Linked DNA regions of Homo sapiens: all the other regions are linked to region 3. Evidence: promoter capture Hi-C in human tissues and cell types (Jung and others, 2019). All regions are on one chromosome and are shown on one strand. The core of a region is centred on a gene start or on the middle of the fragment in contact, and the rest is flanking DNA. Distances in the headings are between cores, read along the strand shown. Region 1 holds the start of METTL2B (methyltransferase 2B, tRNA N3-cytidine). Region 2 has its middle 34 kb from the start of TNPO3. Region 3 holds the start of CALU (calumenin).

The links. Contacts are between HindIII fragments. The study calls those that stand out against the background at their distance.
Region 1: the fragment with the promoter of METTL2B here is called in contact with the fragment with the promoter of CALU in region 3 in 1 of the 25 tissues and cell types used here (aorta).
Region 2: a contact is called between a fragment that was not itself captured here and the fragment with the promoter of CALU in region 3, in 1 of the 25 tissues and cell types used here (IMR-90 fibroblasts).

The regions. Positions count from the first base shown.
Region 1 is chr7:128,474,871-128,478,876 of GRCh38, forward strand. It overlaps METTL2B (methyltransferase 2B, tRNA N3-cytidine), which reads left to right and starts at 1,878. Exons shown (of 9, transcript NM_018396.3): 1 at 1,878-2,005; 2 at 2,212-2,303. The coding sequence starts at 1,896. RefSeq lists enhancers at 1,715-1,764, 1,985-2,154. The HindIII fragment of the contact is 14,580 bases long and covers 1-4,006 here.
Region 2 is chr7:129,087,681-129,091,450 of GRCh38, forward strand. No RefSeq gene overlaps it. Among named protein-coding and RNA genes, the nearest start is that of TNPO3, 34 kb to the left of the region's middle. RefSeq lists an enhancer at 2,178-2,327. The HindIII fragment of the contact is 6,650 bases long and covers 1-3,770 here.
Region 3 is chr7:128,737,814-128,741,812 of GRCh38, forward strand. CALU (calumenin) reads left to right here and starts at 1,546. Exons shown (of 7, transcript NM_001219.5): 1 at 1,546-1,619. RefSeq lists silencers at 1,153-1,292, 1,363-1,502 and an enhancer at 1,783-1,882. The HindIII fragment of the contact is 3,801 bases long and covers 1-3,186 here.

The sequences.
Region 1 (4,006 bases), core at 628-3,127, 260 kb before region 3:
ACAGTGCGAGACTCCGTCTCAAAAATAAATAAATAAATAAATAAATAAAAATAAAAAATAAAATTAAGTTTAGGATACTTTAGCACATTTCATAGAAAAAAGGCCAAAGCTGTTTGACATTTAAAATGTCTCCATTGGAACTAATATAGTAAATTCAAGTGAAGACAATGAGCTGTCTGCAAGAAAATATCCAGTGGGACTGTTGATTGGGAACACTAACAGCTTTTAGTGAGGGGAGAATAAAAGCCCACAGATGAGAAAACAAGATGCCAGAAATAAATGTAAATCAACCACCATATCTGCAAACAGCTGGCCTTGAGAAAAGATAAAAATTCCTTGTACTTGTTTCTGGGTATGGAGCTTGTGTTCAAAATGTTTCCAAAGACCACAAGAATGGCAAAAGCATATTGTCTTCAAATGAAGTACAACTTCTTTACTATCTTTTTGATTAACTTGTGTATTTTTCTTCCTGATTAGAGAGGCTTAGAGCTTGTTCCCATTTCTTTGGAGGAAAAGTATAGAATCATTCATTGCTCCCTGTAGTTTTACCTACAGAAAGAATTTACAATGGAATAAACAATTACTGGCTGGGCACGGTGGCTCACACCTGTAATCCCAACACTTTGGGAGACCGAGGTGGGCAGATCATTTGAGGTCAGGAGTTCAGGACCAGCCCAGGCAACATGGTGAAACCCCATCTCTACTAAAAATACAAAAATTAGCCGAGTGTGGTAGCGCGCACCTGTAATCCCGGCTACTCAGGAGGCTGAGGCAGGAGAATCACCTGAGCCCAGGACATGGAGGTTATAACGAGCTGAGATCCAGCTACTGCACTCCAGCCTGGGAAACAGAGCAAGACTCCGTCTCAAAAAAAAAAAAAAAAAAGTACTAATTACCAATGTGCTATGTCTAGCACTGCACTAACCCTTTCCTTTTTTAAAAAAATTCATCTTTCCCTTTATTCTGACATTATGACATTAAATAAAGTCCAAGAGATATTGGGCTGGTCCTTGTTTGGTCTCTGCCCTTTCCTTCTTTTCCAAGTGGTATTCATCATGCTTCTCTTGGAAGTCTTCTCAAATAACCTTATGTCTATAACATACTTTCTTCTAGATTCTTTTGAGAGTCTATTTGTATTAGATCTAGAAATAGAAATGTAAGGCTGAAATGTATTACTATGACAAACTGTATGTGTGTATTACAATCTTAATTGTGCTAATAAGGATAATTATAATAAATATAATATGGATGATTCAAAAAGGTTAGATGGTTATAATTAAAAAAAAATTGTCCTTGGATATTCCATTTGATTTGCTAAGCCTCGTGTTCTCTAATTTCATATATCCATCTCCCCCACCCCAACCAAAATATATATACACACTGTGTATACATATACACCCACACTATGAAGAGCTGACTATAGAAGCTGGAAATTGCCCTGTTTCTTTCCGCTGCTTGCTACCTTCTTCAGTTCTGGACATCGGCTCCGCAGTGGAACTAGGTAGCCTCAACTCTTATAATGATTCAAGATTATTCCTGTTTTACAACTTGAGGGAAGCTGGGGAACCTGTTAAGAGGATCCCAGCAATGAACTGGGCCTCAAGTGGAATGTCTCCCACTTTCTGCCTAACCTGCACGTCCATCAGCACCTCATCAATGAGATACGACTCCTCCGGGGAGAATTTCCCCCTGCCTGGTCCCCTTCCCTAGAGAGCCCTTCGCCAACCCTGGGAAAGCCCCAAACGACAGCTCCCGAGCGCCACCCGGACCAGACTCCAGGACCGCCCTGTCCCGCCACCCTTTTTCCCGCCCAGACTCCACGTCTTCTGAAAGAGGGCGTGGCCCGCAGGAAGTTCTCGCGTTACGGAAAGTGAAGTGTTTCCGGCTCCGGTGTCATGGCCGGCTCCTACCCTGAAGGTGCACCTGCAATCCTCGCCGATAAGAGGCAGCAGTTCGGAAGCCGGTTCCTGAGCGATCCGGCGCGCGTCTTCCACCACAATGCCTGGTAATCACCCTGCCCCCTCGCCCGGCCTGTCGCTGGCCGTCTGTCCCGCCGCCTCGGAGCATTCCGAAAAGCCCCTGACCGCCGGCCACGAGTCAAGCTGCCCTACCCGAGGCACTCTCCAAGGGGAGAGAAACTCCTAGGCCAGCGACTCACCCTGCTCGCAGCCAGGACGTGAAGCCCCTAAGCTGCCCGTTTGATTTTCTCAGGGACAATGTGGAGTGGTCGGAAGAGCAAGCCGCGGCGGCGGAGAGAAAAGTCCAGGAGAACAGTATCCAGCGGGTGTGCCAGGAGAAACAAGGTGCGCTTAAATGGGCTCTCGTTGGTATCAACAGCCAGCGTACTGCCGAACGCGCCCTCCCGGAGAGGCCAGGGAACCGCGGCCGCCCACATCCTTTATTCCTGGCCTGATGCGGATCTCAGGAGTAGAGCAGGACAGGGAGGGGATGAGCAAGGAGGGAAAAGGGCTGCATTGTAACAAAATCTTAAGTCGTAGAGGGTTTTTTTAATATATAGTTTTACTTTGGAGGAGGGTAATTTTGTCTTTAATTATGTTGAGTAGATCCACGTTGATATGGCTAGCCAATGACAACTGTGTGGTCACGCGATCATCTTAGAACCTGTACTTTTTACATGATTTGCATTTTCCATGAGGAGATGTTTCCATTGAAGCTTCATTTAAGTGATTAGATTCTAAATATTGTTGGGAGGGGGGCTAATGACTGGTGACTGTGTGTCTATTACTTGTGTGATGGTTATGAGAATTTAGGGCTTCAGTCAAGGAAAGGTGGATGCAGCAGAGTGGAGATAAGTCTGGCCAAAGAAAAGGAGGCCCCTGCTTGAGAGGTTGATGATTTCACTGCAAAATATCCCTAGATAGTAAAACTAGGACTGATTGTTCCAGACAATTGAAGATAGCACTACAAATTTAGTACCTGCTGAAAGAGTTCTGTACAACAAAAAGGTTCCAGTTACAAAACATTCACCCTGCATAGTCTGACAGCAACTAGATCAAAGCAAGTTAATAGTTAAAAGGGATTTTGAAAATCATGTGGTTCAATATTCTCTTTTTATAGTTAAAGACACTTGGACCACAGGACATTAAGTGCTTTTCCCAGAGGTAAGCAGTCAGTAGTAGCAGTAGTGGAACTAAAATCCTGTTTCTTAGGGAGTCTTGGTTGATTCAGCAGGTGAGTTGTGAGTTGTTAACACACTTCTTAGTGGATTCCAACTTCCATTGTCACCGTCCTGCTCAATTTGTTAGGTTTTTATTCTTTCTACTACACTAGTCAAGGCCCCCTGAACTGGCAAGAGCAGTAAACTGAAATCTGGGACTGTCATGATCACCTTAAAAACAGCCTTCATTTAAACTGTCCATACTTTTTTTTTTTTTTTTGGAGGCGGAGTCTCGCTCTGTCACCAGGCTGGAGTGCAGTGGCGCGATCTCAGCTCACTGCAATCTCCTCCTCCCTGGTTGAAGCGATTCCCCTGCCTCAGCCTCCCGAGTAGCTGGGACTACAGGTGTGCACCACCATGCCTGGCTAATTTTTTGTATTTTGGTACAGATGGGGTTTCACCATGCTGGCCAGGATGGTCTCAATCTCCTGACCTCGTGATCCGCCCATCTTAGCCTCCCAAAGTGCTGGGATTACAGGCATGCGCCACTGCACCTGGCTACTTCTAGGATTTTTTAATAGTTAAAAGTCATCTGGCTGGGCGCGATGACTCATGCCTGTAATCCCAGCACTTTGAGAGGCTGAGGCGGGTGGATCACGAGGTCAGGAGATTGAGACCATGCCTGGCTAACACGGTGAAACCCCGTCTGTACTAAAAAATAGAAAAAATTAGCCGGGCGTGGTCGTGGGCCTGTAGTCCCAGCTACTCAGTAGGATGAGGCAGGAGAATGGCATGAACCCGGGAGGTGGAGCTTGTGGTGAGCCAAGATTGCGCCCCTGCACTCCAGCCTGGGTGACAGAGCGAGACTCTGTCTCAAAAAGAAAAAAA
Region 2 (3,770 bases), core at 487-2,986, 350 kb after region 3:
GCTGAGGCAGGAGAATGGCGTGAACCCGGGAGGCGGAGCTTGCAGTGAGCCGAGATCCCGCCACTGCACTCCAGCCTGGGCGACAGAGCGAGACTCCGTCTCAAAAAATAAAAATAAAAATAAAAAATAATAATAAAAATAAAAAATAAAATTCAGGCCAGGTGCGGTGGCTCACGCCTATAATCCCAGCACTTTGGGAGGCCGGGGCAGGCAGATCACAAGGTCAGGAGATCAAGACCATCCTGGCTAACACGGTGAAACCCCATCTCTACTAAAAAATACAAAAAATTAGCCGGGCATGGTGGCCGGCACCTGTAGTCCCAGCTACTTGGGAGGCTGAGGCAGGAGAATGGCGTGAACCCAGGAGGTGGAGCTTGCAGTGAGCCAAAATAATGCCACTGCACTCCAGCCTAGGCGACAGAGTGAGACTCCGTCTCAAAAAATTAAATTAAATTAAATTAAATTAAATTAAATTAAATTAAAAAATAAAGCTTCAAGCCAGGTGTGCTGGCACCTGCCTGTAATCCCAGTTACCTGAGAGGCTGAGACAGGAGGATCACTAGAGCCCTGGAGTTCGAGTCCAGCCTGGGCAACATAGCAAGACCCTATCTCTTAAAAAAAGAGCTGCTATGATTTTTATTTGTCAATTATGCCTCAATAAAGTTGAGGAAGAAAACAATAAAGCTACTATGAACATTTGTGTGCAAGTCTTTGTATGAATATGTGCTTTTTTTGGGTGAATACACAGAGGTGGAAAGGCTAGATCATATGGTAAGTATGTTTAACTTTTTAAGAAACTGATCAGCTGTTTTCCAAAGTGGTTTTATCATTTTACATTCCCACCAACAGTGTATGAGAGTTCTAGTTCCTCTGCACTCTTATTAACACATGGTTTTAATCAGACATCTAATAGGTATGCAGTAGTTTCTGATTGTGATTTTAATTTATATTTCCTTAATGTGAATAATGTTGAACATCTTTTCATGTGCTTATTTGCCATCCATTTTTTTGGTGAAATAACTGTTTAGATCTGTTGCCTACTTTTTGAAAAAAAGTTGAATTCTTTGCTCTTATTTGATTTCCAAAGTTCTTTATATATTCTGGATACACATCCTTTATCAGATATGGGCTTTGCAAATATTTTCTCCCAGTCAGTGGCTGGTCTTTTCATTCTTCTCATGGCATCTTTTCAGGAAAAGAAGTTTTTAATTTTGATGAAGTCCAATTTATCAAATTTATTTCCTATTGACTGTGCTTTTAGTGTAATATCTAAGACATATTATCTAATTAAAGGTCACAAAGATTTTACTTCTATGTTTTCTAGAAGTTTTATAGTTTTAGATTTTACACTTAGGTGCATAATCGATTTTGACTTAATTTTTATACGTGGTATAAGGTATGAATTGAAGTTCTTTTTTTCTTTTTTTGCATATAGCTATCCAACTGTTCTAGCCCAACTCACTGAAACTATTCATTAGAAATTATCCTTTCTCATTGCCTTTGGGTCTTTTTAAAAATCAATTGTATATGTGTGTGTATGTGTGTCTGAACTTTCTATTCTGTTCCATTTGATCTGTTCTATTTGAGCTGTCTATCATGATGTTAATAGCACCTCATCTTGATGACTATTATTTTTTATGAAGCCTTGAAATCAGGTGGTGTTAGCCCTCCAACTTTGTTATTCTCTTTCAAAGATGTTTTGGCTAATCTAGATCCTTTGCATTTTCATGGGAATTTTTAGACAGTTTGTCAGTTTCTATAATTTTTTTTTCCCTGTAAAGCTGAGACAGAAACCCAGGGCTCTGAGGTCAGTCTGCCTAGGTTCAAGTTTTATCTTTACCTCTTCATAACTGTCTGACTTTGGCCAAGTTACCTAACTTCTCTGCAATTCCATTTCTCATTCACAAAGCTGAAATAATAATATTATCAATCTCATGGGGTTGTGAAAGGGCTTAGATGAAGTAATGCAGATAAGGCTGAGAGAATGAAAATACAAACAGACAATGGCCAGATCATATATGACAATAGAACTCTGGGCCACAACCTCTGCAGCAACCCATCCAGGAAGCCAAACCACAGCCTCTGCAGCAATCATCCCAGAACAGTCAGAACTTGACCAAGTCAGTAAGTGCAGCTGCCCTAACTTCTGCCCCCACTTCCAACTCAGGACCAAGCACAGAAAGCCAAATATGGTCCCCAATCCAATCACACTGGATGCTCAATTTCTAGTCAGCCTACCTCTAGCTTTCCCATGCCAACAAGCTCCAATCAAGGCATAGCTGAAGACTTCCCTTTTTTTCACTATAAAGCTTTGCACAGCCCTGCCTGCCTGAGTCTCTGACAAATGCGAGTGATGGTGGCTGAGACCCTGGCTAAAGCAAGCGCTGAATAAACAGCTTCTGTTTCTTCTCACTTGGGTGGTTTTTGTTTATTTCCACAGTGCTTAACACTGTGCTCGCAGAGTTAGTGATTGCCCAATACATTTTATATAGAGCAGTAGAATTGCTTTGTCGTATGAAACTTTAAAAAGAATTCCAATAGATAAATAAAAGTGGCATTTCAACCGTTTATTTTATCTAAGTCAGCCAGTAATAAAGGTAGGACTTTTGCAGTGATCTCAATAACATTAAATGAACATGATGGCTGATCCTTGCAACCACAAGGTTTTTTAAAATCCTGATTCACATAATAAGAAGTTGCAAATGCCAAATTTCTGTTTTCTTTTAAACAGGTCACTTTGCAATTAAATATTTGCAGAACCTCTGAAGCACCTCTTCAAAACTCTAGGGCTCTCAGAAACGTGGAGTAAAAACTTACCCTGATGTGAGGTCAGGGTACAGGGTCTTGATTTCAGTCCTAGTGATGCTGCCACTCTGCCGGATAACCTTGGGCATGACACTTGACCTCTGAGATTTGTTCCTCCCTTGTAAATGGAAAGAGCTGAACTAAAGAACTTCTCAAAATTTAGTGCGCATGGATAACCACATGTATATACTGGAGGAGGGTGCGTGCCCATTTAAAATGTAGGTTTCTGACCCACCCAGTGGCGTCTGAGTCAGGGTCCTGGAATCTGCATTTTAACAAGCACAGCTGATTCTGGTGCTAGTGACAATTGGGCACAATTTGAGCAGCACAGGAGCAAATGGTCTTTTAGGTCCCTTCTGGCTCTGATGTGTGTGATTCAGGTGAGGTTGTTGAAGAGAAGTGGGCTGCAGCATTGGGAAAGGAAAAGTGAAGGAGAAAACCATTCAACAGTGGGGAAAATTTTGTTTTTTTAAAAAGCCTATTGTGTCAATATTCTACTTTATTTCTTTTTTCTTTTCTTTTCTTTTCTTTTCTTTTTTTTGAGAAGGAGTCTCGCTCTGTCGCCCAGGCTGGAGTGCAGTGGTGGGATCTTTGCTCACTGCAACCTCCACCTCCCAGGTTCAAGCGATTCTCCTGCCTCAGCCTCCCGAGTAACTGGGATTACGGGCACCCACCACCACGCCTGGCCAATTTTTGTATTTTTAGTAGAGACAGGGTTTCCCCATGTTGGCCAGGCTGGTCTTGAACTCCTGACCTCAAGTAATCGGCCTGCCTCGACCTCCCAAAGTGCTGAGATTACGGATGTGAGCCACCGTGCCCGGCCAGCATTCCACTTTTGAAAGCCCCCGTGACCCTGGTCCAGAAGGACTTTGATTCCTGGCCCTGGTCTTCAAGCTCTTTGCAGAGGCAATGCACATTTTATTCTCCATGAGACCACAGGAAGAAAAAAAAACACCCTCAAATTT
Region 3 (3,999 bases), core at 296-2,795:
CTGTTTTCGAAATAATGCCTCCTGAGGTAGCCTGTTTTATTGTTAATACCCATTAGATGGCTTCCCTGTAGGCACAAGCTTAGAAACTTTCCCAGGAAGACCCACAGTTCCCACTGTCTTCAGTTCAGGTTCCTCAAATTGACAAGATCTTCCATTACCTCTCCAAACTTACTATCCATGCTTTTCTTTCATTGTTTCCCCCCACCCCTTTTTTTAACCTTCCTCATTTGCTACCTGGCCTGAGAATTTACCTCCCACTCTGCCCTCCACTTGTCCTTATTCCTATTACTCTTCTTGCTGAATAGTCCATTTGGGACTTCCTTAGTCCAGCCTTAGTCATATCTTCCTCTGAAGCCTTCCCTGACTACCACCAAGGGTCACTGACACTCCTTTGAATGCCAGAAGGATTAGTTGTAAACCTTTCACGTTGACAGTAACTAGCTTGCTTTCATGAGCTTAACTGTTTCATGAGTTTACAACTTGTCTCAATTTGATTTTAAACTACAGAGGCTTTATGTGCTAAGAATGCCACAGGTTTACATTCCATTTGTGTTGAAGCTATAGTAGCCTTTATTTGATATTTGTTTTAATTTCATGACATGAAATTAAATTTTCAGGGACATGCAACGGGTTCGGCCCATTCCCTTCACTTAACATTACTGAGCTGGGCAGTAAGCTCAGAGTTGCAGATATAAAGATGAATAGACAGATACCTACCCAGGAGCTTACTCTAGAAGAGGACAGATGGATAAGCTACATTTTATAGCAGAATTTGGCAAAGTGTACTGAAGCTATAAACAGCTATGATGGTAAATAAGGTAAGAATTATGCTTAGTGAGGTCAGGGAAGGCTTCTAGAGCTAACATCTGAACTGGGACTTCTATTGGCAAGGCAGAAAATCAGGAAAACGCACTTATTCCTGGCAGAGGAAGCCTCTTGATCAAAAATCTTAAGAGATGAAAAAGGACCGGTTGTTAGGAAACAGATGATGGTGCCCAGAGCGCAAGATGAGGGGGAGTGTTGGGAGATGGAGCTAAAAGATACACTGGTGCCAAAGACTGAAGAGCCTCCTGTAGATAGCGCAGGGCGCAGCGCTGAAGGGAAAGAAAAAGTTGGGATTGTTCAATAAAGTTGGTGACTGATTCAGTCGGATTAATTCCGCCCTGGTGGTCTTGTGGGAATGAAGATAACTAGCAGGATAGTCTAAGAAGCCCTGTGGAAGCAGAGTCATGAGCTGTGAATGGGGACGTGGCGGCCACACGGCCGCGCCCACGCCACCCGCAGTACGGGGCTGGGGCTGGGGCTGGGGCTGGAGCCCGCCGTCCCAACAATCCCGGGGACGAGAGTTGGGCGGGAATCCGCTCCACGCAACTCGGCGCGGTCCCGGGGACGTGGCGCTTTCCAGCCAATCCCGGCTATGCGATTGTTAGACCAATGGCTACTCGGGGACGCTATGCGACAGCGGCGGGTTTGCTGATGATTGGTCGGGAGGCCGCCGGCGAGGCGGATGAGGGCGGGGTGCGGACCCGCTTCCGGTTGGGCGGTGCTTGCGCGCGTGAGCTGAGCCGGTGGGTGAGCGGCGGCCACGGCATCCTGTGCTGTGGGGGCTACGAGGAAAGGTAAGTACGGTGATGCCCAGCCCCTTCACCACTGCCTCATCTTTATTCGCTTTCTTTCTGTCCCCGGTCTTGTTCTTGGCGCGGCAGGGGACTGCCTCACTCGGTGCCGCTGTCTCTGCTGGCGCCCGGGTCCCAGGCCTGATGCTGCTGGAGATCCCGGGACCCTCTGTGTGCAGCCTGGGATGGAGGCCGCCGCCCGTCTTACCGCGCGCTCTGGGAAGGGGGCTGGTCCGGTGGAACTCTGTCCCGTTGGGTACTGTTCTGTGCCTGGTTTGCTGCGTCCTGGTCCTCCATCTCTAGGTCACGCCACTCACCGAGTCTCTGGCACCAGAGGGTCATTTTTTGCCTCCGGAAGGTCGGAGGGCATTTGGATAGTGTTATTGTAAGAGTTCCTTGCCGCCTCCACTCACCATCCTGCTTGTATCTGCCAGCTCCGCCCCAAGGCCACATCCCGACAGTAGGGTGCATCTGCCAAGGTCGTGTTCACTCACCTAAAGGGTGCAGAAACAAGGGGGGAGAGAACGAGTGACGACACTAGGTGATATCTATGATTTTAAAGAAAAGCTGAATGTTTAGAGCTTCCATATTTGGCTACGTACTTCAGTTAGCGACGGAAAATAGTTTTTAAAGCTTTATTGGGGAATTAATTTTTGTTACGTTTTTTGTTGCTTCTAGCCCCATATCCTACTGATTTTTAGCATGCTGCGGTCAGAAATAAACTTAATTCCCTATAGCTGCCGCGATTAAGCGTAGAGTGGCTTGCAGTTTCAAAAGCTGCTTTTGCATCAAGGCCCAAGCTCCGTGGGTCTCCTGCTAAAACTTTTGAGCCTGTGATCTGAATTCCTAAGTGTATAAAATTCTAGAATAGTGTCTTCGAGAATTGAGTTGCGTTCATTTTCTGGTGTGGACCATGAAGTCAACGTTAATGAATTGGGAATAAGGTGGCTTCTAGTTGTTTTTTGTTCTAGTAGCTTATTCAGCTTGGAGGCAGAGAACCTTGGAATCTCTGTTAAATTAGTCTGCCATAGAATGGAACTTGACACAAGACAAATGCAAGTTTGACCTCACTCAGTAGATTTAATTAACCAAATACCAAACGACAGTAATCACTGAAGAATTTATATAGTATAATCCAAATGAGGGACCAGATATAACCTCTAAGTTGTATTTGTCAAGAAAATGAGTTTGCCAAGACCTAATCTGAGGTTTTACTGTGATTGGGGGGTGGGGGGGTTCCAATAGGATTCTTTTGAGAATCACAAGTAGGAAAGCCATGAGCTCACAAAAATGTATTGAGTATGCCTGAGTGAATAGTACTCAATATAGCTTTGAAACCAACTCATTGTCACTCTCAATGTAATCATTGTTTGTTTTCATTCATCCAGTGATGTGTCAAGAAGTACTTATTGATAGCACTTAATATCCATTAGAGCAGTATTGGGATCTATATATTGGTGTTATTTTTTAAAATTTATTTATTTTAGAGTTGAGGGTCTCAGTATGTTGACCAGGTGGAGCCTTGAACTCCCATGCTCAAGCAGTCCTCCTGCCTCAGCCTCCCAAGTAGCTGAGACTAGAGGTATATAACACCACACCCTAGTACATTGGTGTTAACACAGATTTTCTGTAACGTAGGTATACCAGGGATATTGAAAGGACAGAGGTGTAGCCAAGGATAGCCACTGGAAATGCTAGCTAGGCCACAAGGCCCTAGATTCTCACTCTCTGAACTCTTAAGTATGGATGTTGCTGATGCAGTAATTTATGTATTAGAGTTAAGACAGCTGAAATAACACTTTTGCCTGTTCCTGGCTGATTGCCAGATCCAGTAAACGGAATTGGAAGTTGGAGAACACAGGCAGGCAGGAACCACATTGCTGCCAAGTACCGCCCAATTAATTCAGTAAGATGTATTAATCCAGTAAAATGTATTGGTATCAAAAAAGTGCAAGACAATGTATTAGGGACAATATAGGGGTAATAATTTGTATTAGAATGATATGTAGACATTCTTCCAGAAATGTCGATTCTAAAGGGGAGCTAAGGAGACAACTTAAGGTAACCTATGGTCATTGTTTTTGAGTGGTTCAGACGAGTTTTATAGAAGTTTAGATTGGATCATACCCTTTTTGTCCAAAAAGAGAAAAAGATAACAGATCACTTCCAGCTAGAGTGATCATAGTAGGTAGGTCTTCTAGGATCTTAAATTTATTTATAGACATCTGGCACTGAAGGAAGTTTGAGCTAAAATAACTACCAAATTCTCAACAGTGTCACGCATGTTACACATGCACAGCAAAATTACAACTAGAAACCAAGGCTCCTATCCCTACATTTCAAATAGCATTTCTCTCACAATTGATTATGTATTAAGGCTTGT